2 separate regions of the Homo sapiens genome follow, and region 2 is linked to region 1. Evidence: promoter capture Hi-C in human tissues and cell types (Jung and others, 2019). All regions are on one chromosome and are shown on one strand. The core of a region is centred on a gene start or on the middle of the fragment in contact, and the rest is flanking DNA. Distances in the headings are between cores, read along the strand shown.

The links. The method cuts DNA at HindIII sites, captures the fragments that hold promoters and counts their contacts. A contact is called where the count stands out against the background at its distance.
Region 2: a fragment that was not itself captured here is called in contact with the fragment with the promoter of EYA1 in region 1 in 1 of the 25 tissues and cell types used here (lymphoblastoid cells).

The regions. Positions count from the first base shown.
Region 1 is chr8:71,359,074-71,366,157 of GRCh38, forward strand. It overlaps EYA1 (EYA transcriptional coactivator and phosphatase 1), which reads right to left and starts at 2,996. Exons shown (of 18, transcript NM_000503.6): 1 at 2,574-2,996. RefSeq lists enhancers at 2,403-2,924, 2,677-2,786. The HindIII fragment of the contact is 13,424 bases long and covers 1-7,084 here.
Region 2 is chr8:70,927,372-70,934,670 of GRCh38, forward strand. It overlaps a transcript of XKR9 not described here. Among named protein-coding and RNA genes, the nearest start is that of XKR9, 260 kb to the left of the region's middle. The HindIII fragment of the contact is 6,952 bases long and covers 2,563-7,299 here.

The sequences.
Region 1 (7,084 bases), core at 1,746-4,245:
TGCTTTTTAAAACTCATTGTATAGAATACCCATAGTAGCATATTGACAGAGTTGTGAAAATACAAATAGCAACAAGCAGAACTTCTTAGAATTCAAATTCAAGAATCCTAAACTAGTAACTTTGACTTCTGATTAGTTAATGAGGTCTTTTAAGTTTGCCTTTTTTCTAATTAAATTTATAATTCTTCACAGATGTAACTTTTGTTGATATTCAATTTGTCTCTCTCATTTTGTTAAACCTCACATAGTACTTCGCCAATCCATTGAATAGCCACATTAAATCTGTTAATACCATGCTCTTCAACCCCAGAAATTATTTCCAGAAGGCAAACTTGCTTTGAGAGATCATCAAACAAGACTTAAGGTACACATTTTATCACATTTTCCCTACCACAGAGCTCAGGATGCAGAGCAAAATTCATGACTTTTGCACTGTTTATTATACTTTGCTAAATTACAAATCAAAAGCATCTGACAGAAGATCATGCATGAAGCCAAAAAGTTAATAATGTTCTGTGAAAAGTAAACTGTAAATGGAAAGGGATTCTAAATCTCAGCAGCACAGAGCAAATAAAATGTAGGTACTTGTCTAAATTACGGGTTTTCCATAGGCTTTTTTTGCTTGCTAGAAGCAATTTTTATAAAATGACTATAATTTAAAACTTTTTTTTCAAACTGAAAAGAAATTTTCAAAGTGAAAGTACTGAGCTTATCTAAATAAATAGAGTTGGCAGGCAAGCTAGTTTTGTCCAACCACAGATCAACCTGAGTACTCCCAAATTTGAAAGACAATGGCAATTTTCTCATCAGAATGTATTTTATGTAAAAAAAATTTTCCTTAGCCATAAATCTGTGTTTTAGGGTATATTCTTGCTAAAATTTCTCCTCAATCGATATCTCCAACTATGGCATCATTGTTGTAATGAAAACTTAAATTTTAAAAATAAAAACCTAAACCTAAAATTGAAATGAAGTTCTAGGGAGACGTCAATGTTTTTTAAATGTTAACACTATATTTCCTTCTTTATCAAAGACTCCATAAAATAAATGCTTTAATACTACTGCTGATTATTTTCAAGTAGTATAGTACATTACTTTTTGCAATGCGTCGTTTAAAGAAAATGACAAAATAGAGTCCGCATGAAAACAAAAATAAGTATTTAAACCACATGGATGCTACCAATAGCTTTAAAGGATTGTTTTCAATATCAATTTACTTAAAATGTTGAATGAAATACTTTTGATATTTGATAAACAAGTGGTTTTATTCTTGCTGCAAGTGTTTTTCTTCTTTACAATGTATTCTTAATACGATTTTCACAAATGGAAATTTTCTTTTGAGAAAATCATTTATCATGTCTATGAAACTCACACAGCAGTGGACTTCCATTTGGCCCTCTAAAACTGAACAGTGGCTCAATTAGGCCTCTATGTCTGTCACCGCAAAGAATGTTCAAAGATTGAAAATCCATGGCTGCTTGCTCACTTACTGAACACTTTGGGCCTTGGGAGAACTCAAGCATGCAGAAAGTCAAATATCAAATATTTGATAATGCAAAAGCATGACTGTACATGTGTGCATGTCCTCAGACCCCAGACTGTGGGGGAAAAGACTCATGCAAGCATAAAATAAAACCTACTTTGAAAGACACATTATAAAAACAATCCCAAACCTATAAAACTACACTATGTGCTTACTATCGACCTTTTGTACCCCTTGCCATTTTAAGAAATAAAACAAAAACGTTTGCCTAAATTCAATGACAGCTCTGAATTTATTGAATTCTTGCAAATGCTATGCTCTAATGTGTTCAAAACCTCCTCCCAATAAATATAAACCCATGAGTCATTAACAATTCATATACTGATTTTGAATGGCAAATATTTTAAATGGTAATTCAAAAGTTTACAGATCTTGTTTTAAACTTCAAGGTCCACTCAAGCCTTACAAAGTGTCAATAAGAGAAAAATATATTAATTGGGTAAATGTTTGTTATATCACCTTCTGAAGATAAGTTTGTTTAATATAACGTTTGGGAAATTTATTAAAGCAAAAATATTTTCTTCCTTAAAAAGTGCTATCAATTTAATGTTGTTATCTGTTGTCCTTTCAAATGTTAAATGCTTCATTTTTTTCATATCAAAGTGTGTAAAAGTTACTTATGTATTGCAATGAACATATATGTACCGCTTTATTCAATACCACACAAATATATTTGAGATTTGTGCAGCAATTCAGAAAAGAGATATGAAGTCATCTCCCTGCAAGAATATGGTCCTGCATTACATTTATCTAGAGCATAACAAAAGTAATTGTTAACAATTAATTTGTAATTATTTCTTAATGATCCTGATCGCTCATAATTTGGAGGTTGGGAATTCTACTTCTAGGATGAAACCCTGTGGCTCATAAAGTACTAGGTACAAAGTGTCATAATTTTCCCCATGCCATAATGTTTTTCTTTGAAAACAAATCAAAACAATAATAAAAGCGCTCCTGTTAGCTTGGGCTTTGCCCACAGGACAGCTGTTGTCAGTCACTACAATTTTTCAAACAGTCAGCTTGTACTTACAGCGCTTACATCTGCTGCATCCACCAGTTTAATGTGTTCCTTCGAATTTTCTGGGTTAGCAAACCTCCATTCCTGACATAGTTTTGCTCCTGGATGGGTACGCGCGGGGGCTCTCAGGCGCTCTGGTGCAGCCGCGGCGCTTCTGGGAGTGGAGCGCCTCTGCAGGGGAAAGCTCGGCGCAGGGGGCAGGCGCCTGGCCGCTGCCGCAGGCTCGGGCTGCCGAGCGACTGAGCGAAAACGTGTTCCCCAGGAAGAAACCCGCCACAGTGGACGGCAACAGGAAGGCTTAAAGTCGGAAGTGGCACTGGAGAGTTTCTACCTCGCCCCAAACTCGGAGCCATCAGCTCCCACCGTTCTGTTTGGTAACAGCTTTGCGCCCAGCGCTCCTTCCCCACCAAACAGCAGCGGCAGATAGCATCTGAGAACCCTAGACAAAGAAACAGCAGAATCTCATCCCTCGATTTGTTTGCGCAGCCTTGTAGGTCTGCCCATGGAGCCTCGGGGCTTTCTTTTTTTTTTTTTTTTTTTTTTTTTGGTTTTTGCAACGCAAACCACAGCTATTCTCTTGTCCTAACCTTATTGGTTTAAATGCAACAATTGAAAGGAGCACTGCTCTGTCTGACTCAACCTTGCTGTTTAAAAAAAAAAAAATTATGTAAATGAACGCGCCCCACGCTATCTGAATAAACAGCTGTGTGAGAATAACTTCTCTGAGACGTGGTCAACACACACGCGTCCTCTTGCAACAGTAGTTACCAATTAAGATCTTTGGGGAGTAGTTACACGTTATCTTTTACACTTTTCCTAAACTTTTTTCAGGCCCTGAAACTTAGGGAATCCACTACTTTTCATAATTTATTTCCTAACTAACGTACCTACTACTGAAACAGGTCTGGGGGAAATAAAAAACTAGAATGGCCATTTCCCTTTAAGTAGAAAATGAAAAAGCAAACGTGCAAGCTTTTATCAGTTTAATAATGAAAGCCTGAAGGATGAATCCGAAATGATTTCTAGAATGGCAAATCTTCTGTGAACAATTCCTTGGCTATGAACCAGATAATGTTTCAGTGTTAATATTTTTAAATGGTTTTTGGAAAAGATTCATGTTATCTAGAACTCTTTCTTTACAGCTTATTCTTTTAAAAAAAAATTCTTACTGACCTCGGAATCTATGCATGACAGTCTATAACACTCACCTAAAGAGCTGAGCTTCAGTTAAGATATGTTTTATACAGATACATGACTTTGGTGATAAGACTTAACCATTATGTTGATTTCAAATATTCAAAGAAGGCATCGTTTATGTGACTAATGATTGTATCTCAATTTGCCAGACCTGTGCCAACATTCAAATACAAATGTTTATTTTGATACTAGTCACTCGTTGTAACCAATTTTGTGCTCTAAAATAAAATCTTTAAGCCCATCGGATTTTTCTTAAAACTGTTTTGTCATCACCCATAGAATACTATTCTGCTGATTAGGTCTTTTATTTAAGGAAAAAAAAAGCGTCCTCATTTTTTAGGCGCTTGATAGATGTGAAAAAAATTTTAAAAATCACAATAACTTTTTGCATGACTTTATAATACATTTCCAGATCGTCAACTAATAAAACACATAGACACAATCATAACTTTATATTGCTAATATGTAAATGAAAGCACCATTCCGATGCAAACAAAAAATAAAAAGCTGCTAATGACCAAAATTTATTACAGACTTCCCCCCAACCACCGAAAGTATGCCAATCTGAATTCCTCAGAAAAGAACACTTTGTCAAACATAAACGACAGTTTAAACTGCAAACTCACCTAGGATTTCATTTTGTATAGTACCAGCAAGGAATCATGGGCTAGTCATCTACCATATTTGGGAAGCCAGGTCAAAACACAGTTGATTGCTATTGGATCTGTTCATATATGCAGCAGAAATAGAATTATGTTACCACCTACTGCACTTTCTCAGACCAGAAGTATCAGTTATTCAATATACTAAAGTATATATGCAGAAAATAAAATACAGCTTGTAATGGAGATTTCTAGCATTGTCAGATAAAATGTAATGTTGTGGTAATTCAATCTGATATCAAACAGTAAATACTTTTGCAACCACATTTATTTCTAAGCTCTATAAAATCTAAAATTTGAGATGTTGGAGAATTAAACAATGCTTGAAATTTTACATTTAGCTATTGTATTCATGCTTCCAATTGTTTAACAATTATTTTAGACATAAGAGAGTAAGAAATTATTTTTCTAATCCATGAAAGATTATATTGACAAATCCAGAATATATGAACTATATAAAATCAAAACAGTGGGAATATTATGTAAAGTATGTCACATTTATATACAAGTTACTTGCCCACATTATAGTTAAATGTATCATATTACATATTTTATGTTGAAATTTAATTTTTATTTATATAACCAAATGAAATATTAAATAAATGATGCATATAATTATGAAGAAAATTAGTAAAATCATGATGAATGTAATGTGACCACTAATTGATATGGTATAGCTCATGCTTCATAATTATGTAACAAAGAGCTTAGTCACTGACTAAAAGTAATATCCATGTGCATATTTACTACTTTTAAAGAGTTTCATTTTCCTGAAGCAAAATTAGATGGATTAAAAACAATCACGTTTACCCATAAATTGTGTATGGTTACTACTTTTGAATATCCAATATGTAATAATTACTATTGCATACAATTTAAACCAAAAGTAAGTTACCCTATGATAAAGAGCCACATTTAAGCTATTAACAACACCTAGTTTATAGTGTATTTATTGATAGCCTCTTATTTCTAAATCTTCACCAACTATAACTATAGTATGTAACGTAACCATATACTTTAAGGACTAAATTGTTCCCTAAATACAGTCATACATATAACTACAAAATTTAGGGAAATTTGTTGAACATTGCTACTAGTAAAAGGTGATAGAAGAAATCATTGCTATTTCATATTTGCCATGTAAATCTCAATACATAAATGTATGGAAAGGAATTTTAAAATTTTCCAATATGCTTTTTCCTCAATAAAAAATACATAATTTTATCTGGAAAGGGAAAATACTTGAAATATTCAACTGATATGAAATGTTTGAAAACCCTCAAGGAGACAGTTGATCTTTCATATGCTGTATCACCAAACAGGTTTTATGTGACAGAGCCAGCTGTTGCCTAGATACCTGCCTGGTTATATGAAGGAAGTCTTCAATTTTGGTAGAAGAGTTTAGTGTTTTAGGTTAAGGGCATGATCAAAAAAAAAGCAAATGTCATATATATATATATATATATATATATATATATATATATATATATATACATATACACACACACACACGGTATTTACATTACATTTGTAATATTCAATACATATTACAAATGTCATGTATATATATGTGAGAGAGAGAGACAAGGACAGATACAAGAAACTCATTACAACAATCTAAAAGGTAACTTGGGCTTTTCTAAAACTTCATGAGTTAACAGTTGATTAATCAAATTAAGTATAACAAATAAACACGAGAAAACAAAGGATAAAATACAGGTGTCCCTTTCCCTTTTAATTCCAATAATGAAAATAAAATTATTTTACAGTTGTGAAGTTGTCAATAAATGATGCACTTTGAAGTTATTTTTCTTCTATTTGTGTTTACTTTGAAATAACGTTAGAAGCATGCATGCTATTACCTGGTCCAAAAGTTTACTAATCTCTTTGTTTCTATGCTTCTTATGAGATGATTATTTTTCAAAAATAACAGTATAGTAAGTTGCAAAATATAATCAGCACTTAAAGACTAATGCATTTTCTTAAAAAAGCGAAATCCCACTCATTATTTCTTCCACATGATTAAAATCAATATGTGGAAGTATTCAACATTTTGTAATTTAAACTGTTCAAAGTAGAATGGCAAATAGAGTATTCCAAAATACTATACTTCCAGTCTTCCTGGTTTCACATAAATTTATTTTTCTTATGGTCCATGCCATGGCACTACCTCCCTGGCTTCTTTATGGAGCCTTTGGAACCGTGTCTGGATGGCTGACACTATGATCCTTGTTGGCATTCTGAATGGTCACTTCCATGACCTGCTCTTTCCCCACCAGCATGAGACCTACAATGAGGGTCCTGCTCCCAGGAGCCTTCTGCTGAAATGCAACCAAGTAAAACATCCTCTATTTATTTTAAGAATGATATTATATCTGCCAAACTGAATGTCTACCAATATTTTGTGAAATGTTTTCCATTCAAACTCCAACATGATTAGCTTTTAACAGTAAAGCTAAGGAGGTAATTAACTATTAGCTGTACCATGGAAAATTATTTTAATACATATTACAGTCTTTATATCAACACAATATGAAAATAGAACCTATTTCCTGACTTCCTAAAGAGCACGTTGATTATTATATATTAATAATAACATTTATTTATGTAGGGTGTGAAACTTGTTATCCTATGTAGTAATGGCTGCCTATCAGATTTTTTTTT
Region 2 (7,299 bases), core at 4,789-7,288, 430 kb before region 1:
CTTGTCTCTACCTGTTTTAGTCCATTTGTGCTGCCATAACAAAACACCTGAGACTGGGTAATTTATAAATAATAGAAACTTATTTCTCATGATTCTGGAGGCTGGGAAGTCCAGAGTCAATCTGCACCAGCAGATTCCGTGTCTGGGAAGGGTTTGCTTTCTCTTTCCAAGATGGCGTCTTTTTGCAGTGTCCTCTGGAGAGGATGAAGGCTATGACCTCACATGGCAGAAGGCATGGAAAAGCCAGGCAGGTCTCTGATACCTCTTTTATAAGGGCATTAATACCACTCACCAGTACAGAACCCTCATGACTTAATCACTTCCCCAAAGGACCTGCCTGTTGATACCACCACACTGAAAATTAAGTTTCAACATGAATTTTGGAGGTTCACAAATATTCAAAACATAACACTGTCCATACATGTACTGTTTCTGTGTTAGCTTGTTTCTATCCTGATTGCCTATGATGATGTTTGTGTTTCCTGGCTTAGGTCATTGACGAGTAGGTGCTAGATCTGGTAGTAGATAGGAAATGCTCTCCATTCTAATTTTCCCAGGGTCCTAGACTGGTTCTTCCCCGCATCTCTTTGAAATGAGTTGAGTCTAGGTTTGAACCTTTTATCTAATTTCTATATTTTGCTTTTCTATCAGGGCTCAAACAAAAATCTAATTTCGTGTGTGTGTGTTTAGAAACAGGGTCTTGCTCTGTCAACCAAGCTGGAGTGCAGTAGAGTAATTGCAGCTCACTGCAACCTCAACCTTCTGGGCTCAAGCAATCCTCCTGCTGTAGCCTCCCAAGTAGCTGTAATTACAGGCATGCACTACCATGCCCAGCTAATTTTTAAGATGCTTTTGTAGAGATGGGGTCTTGCTCTGTTGCCCAGGCTGGCATTGAACTCCAGGCCTCAAGTGATCCTCCCATCTCAGCCCTCCAAGGCACTGGGATTACAGGCGTGAACCACCCACCTGCCTTGATTTCCAGGTTTTTATTAGGACATTTTGGTTGACCCTGTGGTCTTGCCATAGCCTTGTGGACATTACTAAGCACAACCCATTTGATAAAAATATCTGTTGAAAAGTTTTTTTTTAAAAGGCTTATAATCTGATTTTTTTTAGGTTAATGAAATATGTGCAAATGACAAAAATGCCTGATGTGACATTGATCAAAATTTTACCACCTTTTGGGAAAGTATATGGCCTAGCCCATATACTTTAGTTGATATCTATAGTTGCTATCACCTTAAAGCCTGGGTGCTCTTCCCTAGTCTGGGCTCCTAAATTGTCCCTGCACCATTAGCCAGGGACATACTTTCCTGGATTTGGTCTTAGATGGCCAGACTATCCTCTGGCCAAGCTTGTCAGACTCCAAAGTTAGTCCCAGCTTGTTCTCATCTCCCAGCTGGCACAGACATAGGATTGCTAGCCTTCTGCAAAGAGGGTGTAGGAAGGGTATGTGGAGTCACATCATATGCACATTTAACTAAAACAAATCCAACTATAGGAGTTGAGAGAGACAGGGTGGAAACAATCAGATTCTGCACACCATTTCACAAATTGATTATGCATTTGGGAGTGGGCAGGAAATAGAAGGCAGAAGTTGACTTTCCTTGATCAGTCTTAGTTCCCTTTTGCTTCTCCCAATGTGAGCATCTTGAAGGCTGAATGTGATCATAGTAGTAAAAATGCAAATTTCCCTTACCACATGATCCATAAATGCAACACAATAAGCTGCTCAACCAGAGGAATAGTCATCTGGGCCAAAGCTACAGGAAAACCAGTTCTTTTGGATCTTCCAGAGCAGTACAATAGAACTTGTCATGGTGATGGAAAAGTTCTCTAGTCTATAGTGGTCAGTATGCTAGCTAGCAGACACAAGGGGCTATCGAGCACTTGAAATGTGGCAAGTCTGATGGAGGAATTTATATTAATTAAAATTAATTTAAACTAAATACCTTATGCAACTGTGTTGAAGAGTATAGATCCAGAAAATTTCCAGTGTGGCATTGTATTACTTTTCTCTTTCTGTATAACAGATCACCACAGATTTTGCAACTTATGCAATACCTATTTAATTAGTTAAGCCAGAAGTTTGAACTGGCTTTCCTGAATTCTCTGCTTAGAGCCTTACAAGACAGAAATCAACGTGTAGGTCAGGCTGAGCTCTTATCTGGAGACTCTGGGAAAGAATCTCCATCTAGGCTTATTTGGGTTGTTGGAAAAACTTAGTTTCTTGTGGTTGTACGACTAAGGTTTATGTTTCCTTCCTGGCTGGTGGCCAGGGTTTGCTCTCAGCATCTAGAGGCTAGTCTCTAGTCTTTGCACATGGCCACTTCCATCTTCAAGCTAGAAATGGTCATCGAGTCCCTCTGATACTTTAGATCTCGATGACATCCTCTTCTACTGTCAGCCTGAGAAAAAGGCTCTGTTTTCAAAGGGCTCACTTGTTTGAGTCAGGCCCACCCAGTTAATCTCAATATTTTAAAACCAACTCACTTGGGGCTTTAACTGCATCTGCAAAGTCCCTTCACAGAAGTACTTAGATTAGTGTTTGATTGAATAACTAGGCTGGCAATAATAGAGGGCCATCTAGAATTCTGCCCGTCACAGGCACCTTCTTCAGATTTCCAATGCTAATTTTGACCAGGTTTGATTTTCGTATTTTACACTAGCTTTTAGAACCCAATCCCAAGTAAAATATGAACTTGTAGTGGGTAGAATAATGTCATTGCTTTGGGTTTTGAATTTTTTTCTGTTCTCAAAAATCACTTAAAAAATGTAGAAACCTGGGAGTTAGTGTGGGGTGGTTGTAGGTGGGGTGGAGTAGGTGAATATAAGCCTATATCTACTAAGACTTTAGCTTAGCTTTTAATGCTCTGGTTAAGATGAGGTAATATGTAGCTGAGATGGGCTCCTAATACTTGGCTGGCTGAATTGTGGGGGAGTAGGAAGGAGAACCTTGTGAGAAGGGCTAGGATGAAAGAACCTAGTGAGAAGACTTAGTGGCTACCAAAGATGACTTAGTCATCTCTCTCAAAGTTATTTACCACTTTGGTATTTGGGTCATAGTTTGCCACTCCATGCCTTAGCATATTTTTAAAGCTATTAAAGTCAACAAGACAGCAAAATTTGTTTAAAAAAGAGAGATATTTTAAATCCCTTCAAAGTGATATCAGGCTGTGTTAATGGATGCATTATGTTCTAAACCAGAAAAAAATTATTTCAAGCCACTTGGCACTAGTCTTGCCTGAACATATTTCAACTGCTTTTAGTTTGGGATACCACATGTTGAAAAAGAGACAAATTAGAGAAAATTCAGAGTGGCAACCAACATGATAAAATGCCTAGTTAAAGGTTCATGGCGTGGCTCAGGGGATTGGTAATGGGGTATAAATCCTCTCTCTCGTCAGCACTTCATTTTTAGCAGTGTCTATCTAATGGCTGTCATCGCCACTTAGATTCAGAGACCAGCATGGGAGGAATTGATGGTTGGGTATGGTTTAGAATGTTGCAGTCCATATGCCAAAGAGCATCACCATCAGAACCTTCTTCACCTTTCTGGTGAAGAAGTTAGGGGTTTAAACACAAAAGCTAAATCTGATATTCACCTGACCCAAGCCAGTTAGTTCCAAGTTTGGCTGGGCAAATTGTTAATTACTCTTGGTAGTAGACTTCGTGATATTTGAATTTGGACTGAGAGAAATTCATTTTCTTGTTTAAATAAATATCCACATAGTTGAACTATTTTGAAGAAGTTTGAAATCTGTTTCAAGCTTAAGTAAAAAAAAAAAAAAATCAGAGTGCCAATTTATTTAACTACAGTGAGAAACAAAACTATAATCTACAATGCTCATGTTAATGAGATCTGTGCATTCTGTACACAGGAAGAGCTCCAACAGGTATGGAATCATAATCAGAAGGTTACCCTGAGGTCAGCATGGTGTTCTAAGATGATTCTAAGGTGGCTGGATATGTCCATCTATAGCTTTTGTTCAGGTCTGTATGACCAGCCAGGTTGTGTGGTAGGATCGTGACTAACCTCTTTCTTAGTTCTAGATCTGTTATTAATTATTGAATAATGCCTGGCAAATGGATAAAGTGAGTAGCTAGTAACTAATGGTCCTTAAGGCCTTTTCAGCTATAAAATTCTTTGATTTTATGTACATATTCTACAGGTCATGTGTTAGCCCATTCTTGTGTCACTATAAAGAAATACTTGAGGCTGGATAATTTAGAAAGAAAAGAGGTTTATTTTGGCTCACACTTCTGCAGGCTGTACAGGAAGCATGGCACTGGCATCTGTTTGTTGTCTGGTGAGAGCCTCAGGGAGCTTACAATCATGGCAGAGGCCAAAGAGGGAGCAGGTATATCATGTGGTGTGAGAGAAAGCAAGAGAGAGAAGGGGAAGGTCCCAGACTCCTGTAAACAACCAGATCTTGAGTGAACTAACTGAGCGAGAGCTCACAAATTACTAAGGGAATAGTGCTATGCCATTAATGAGAGATCCAGACCTATGATCCAATTCCTACCAAAGGCCCCATCTCCAACACTGAGGATCACATTTCAACATGAGATTTGGAGGAGACATACATCCTAACCATATCAGGTAGGTAGGTAGGTAGTGAGATAATTAATGTTCTTGATTCTGTTGAGTAAAGACCTCAAGGCATTTCACACGTATTAGACAGTTCAATACATTTGTTGAGGACTTCCTATGTGCAAATTATTGTGTTAAGCATAGAAGTAGACATGGTCTCTTCCCATGAGAAATTTAAATGATTAAGTAAAATATTATATTGTTATTATTAATTAATATAGATATTAATTAATATGAATAACATGAATGTGGTAGTATAATATGAATAATGACTGATGACAATATAAGGCAGAATTAAATAAGGGCAGCAATGGAGATGCAGACCGATGTGAGATAGGATATGGAGTAGGGAAAAATTAATTGCATCTCAGGAGATTAAATAATTTATAGAATACAGTATTTGAGCTGGACTTTTAAGGATGCAAATATTCAGCAAACTTTGATAACCACTAGTCTAGGTCAGAGTTGGCATTGCCATAATAGTGATGTGAAGTTCAGCTTGCCTGTTAGAAGAGAAGGAGGTAGGGAGAAGTTAATGACATTTCAGCACCAGGACCTCTCAATTGCATGGACCACTTCTGTATTAGTTTGCTAGGCCTGTCATAATAAAGTATTATAACAAAATACTACAGGTTGGGTTGCTTAAACAGCAGAAGCTGGAAGTTCAAGGTGCCAGTAGGACTGGTTTCTCCCGAGGCCCTTCTCCCTGGCTTGTGGAGTGCCACCTTCTGCTGTGTCCTCACATGTCCTTTTCTCTGTGCATTCACAACCCTAGTGCTTGTCCTCTTTTTGTAAGGACATCAGTCCCTTTGGATTAGGGCCCACCCTTACAATCTCATTTAACCTTAATTCCCTCCATTAAGGCCCTATCTCCCAATACAGACACAGTAGGGGGCTAGGACTTCAACATATGAATTTTAGGGGGAACACAATTCAGTTCATAACAACTTTTAAGGCTGTGAACGGACCCTAGCTTTCAGTTCACTTGATCATATTTGTGTGTGTGAAAGTGAGTTATTTTTATACTCTTTGTCTTCAAGTGTGTCCCTCAAATGGGACAGGTTTCCGACCCTCTAAAACCCGGGCCTACCTTCTTCCTGGGGCAAGATATTCATTAGGCTCACTGTTCACCAGAAGAGGTAGCTTTGAGTGAGGATACTGTAAAGGAGAAGTGGGTAAATGAGGGGCTCCTCTATTATTGAAGAGAGAACATAGGGGCTGGTGTGAATTCCAAGTTCTGATAGGGCTACAGATGCTTTTAGGTTAGGGATCAATACATAGAAATGAAATGTGCTGGTCTTTAAGAATCATCTTTCTTTTCTCTATCCTACACCACGAGTGTTAGAAGGAACCAACAATGATGGAAACCCAAAGGAATAATGGGACGCTTAGGGCGTTTAGGGCATAGAGCAATATCTTGTTGAAGTTGGAAGAGAATGTAGTCAGAGTTGGAGATGAAGGGGAAGAACAGTTTTTTTTTTTTTGTCTTTCCTGGCATAACGTACATAGAAGTTAGATTTAGGAGAAGATTTCTTAGTCACAAAATCTGGAGAAAGTAGTTAATGGTAGTAAAGAATGAAGGCTGCCAGGGAACAGGGGAGTATATTCTCTTCCTTTTTCTTCCTTTACATTCCTCTGCTTTTCCTTTTGTATCACTGTTTCTCCTAAGTGATAAGAATCACTTAGAGGGTGCTTATGAAAAATGAAGATTCCTATGCCTAATCCCAGACTGAGTGAATTAGAGTCTTTGATGATTGGGGCCCAGAAATAGTTATTTTGAAAGTTTCTGATTTGATTTTTATACTCTCTAGGGACTGCTCTACATCCACACAAGAGTAGAATACTGCCTCTTAATTGCATATTGCTGTCATCAGTATCTATTAGTTATATCAGGAACTACCATTTATGGAGCACTTGTTGAGCTGTTCTAAGCAACATACTTACCCGATTCTCATGGTAAACATTTATTATGATAATATTATCCCCATTTTGTGGATGAGAAACCAAATCTCAGAAAAGTTAAACAAATTTCTCAAGGCCACATAAGTAGTGTTATTTAAAAAGTGAAGGGGAAAAAGAGAAGAAAAAAATTGATAAACATATTAGTTTGCAAGTATTTTTGTATGTATAAAATTACTTTAGAGTTATATGTTGTCTTAATTGTGTGGATATTATAATAAATATTAACTCTTAAGACCCTTGCCTGGTTGAGCATTGGTCAGCCATACTGTTAAACTGATATTCTGTTGAAATGGAATGCCAGGAAATTCCAGGCAATTTTGGCAGAAGTAATAGACTTCATGAACTTTTCTTGCCAATACTAACATCTCTCTATGACACTTAGGGGGCTATAGAGACTTGTTTGATGGGCTGATGTTCATATTTTTAATTTGATAAGAAATTTGGGCAGCTTAGCAATAAGGTATACAGTTTTGGAAAATATGAAGAAAACCCTGCTATGTGACAATCCATTTCTGTAGGATTTGGGACAATAAATACGATGTTTTATTTTTGTAAAGCAAAACAACTCATAGACAAAAGGCTTATTGCAACTATTTTAGTATTCTATCCCTTAATCCTGCACAATTCCACTTAAAAGAAGATAAAATTTCCATTCAATGGACCAAACAACACAATAAAGTTTCTAGAGGAAACCTTTGCAATTACTATGCAAGCTTATTATAACACAGGGGAAGAGAATTAAG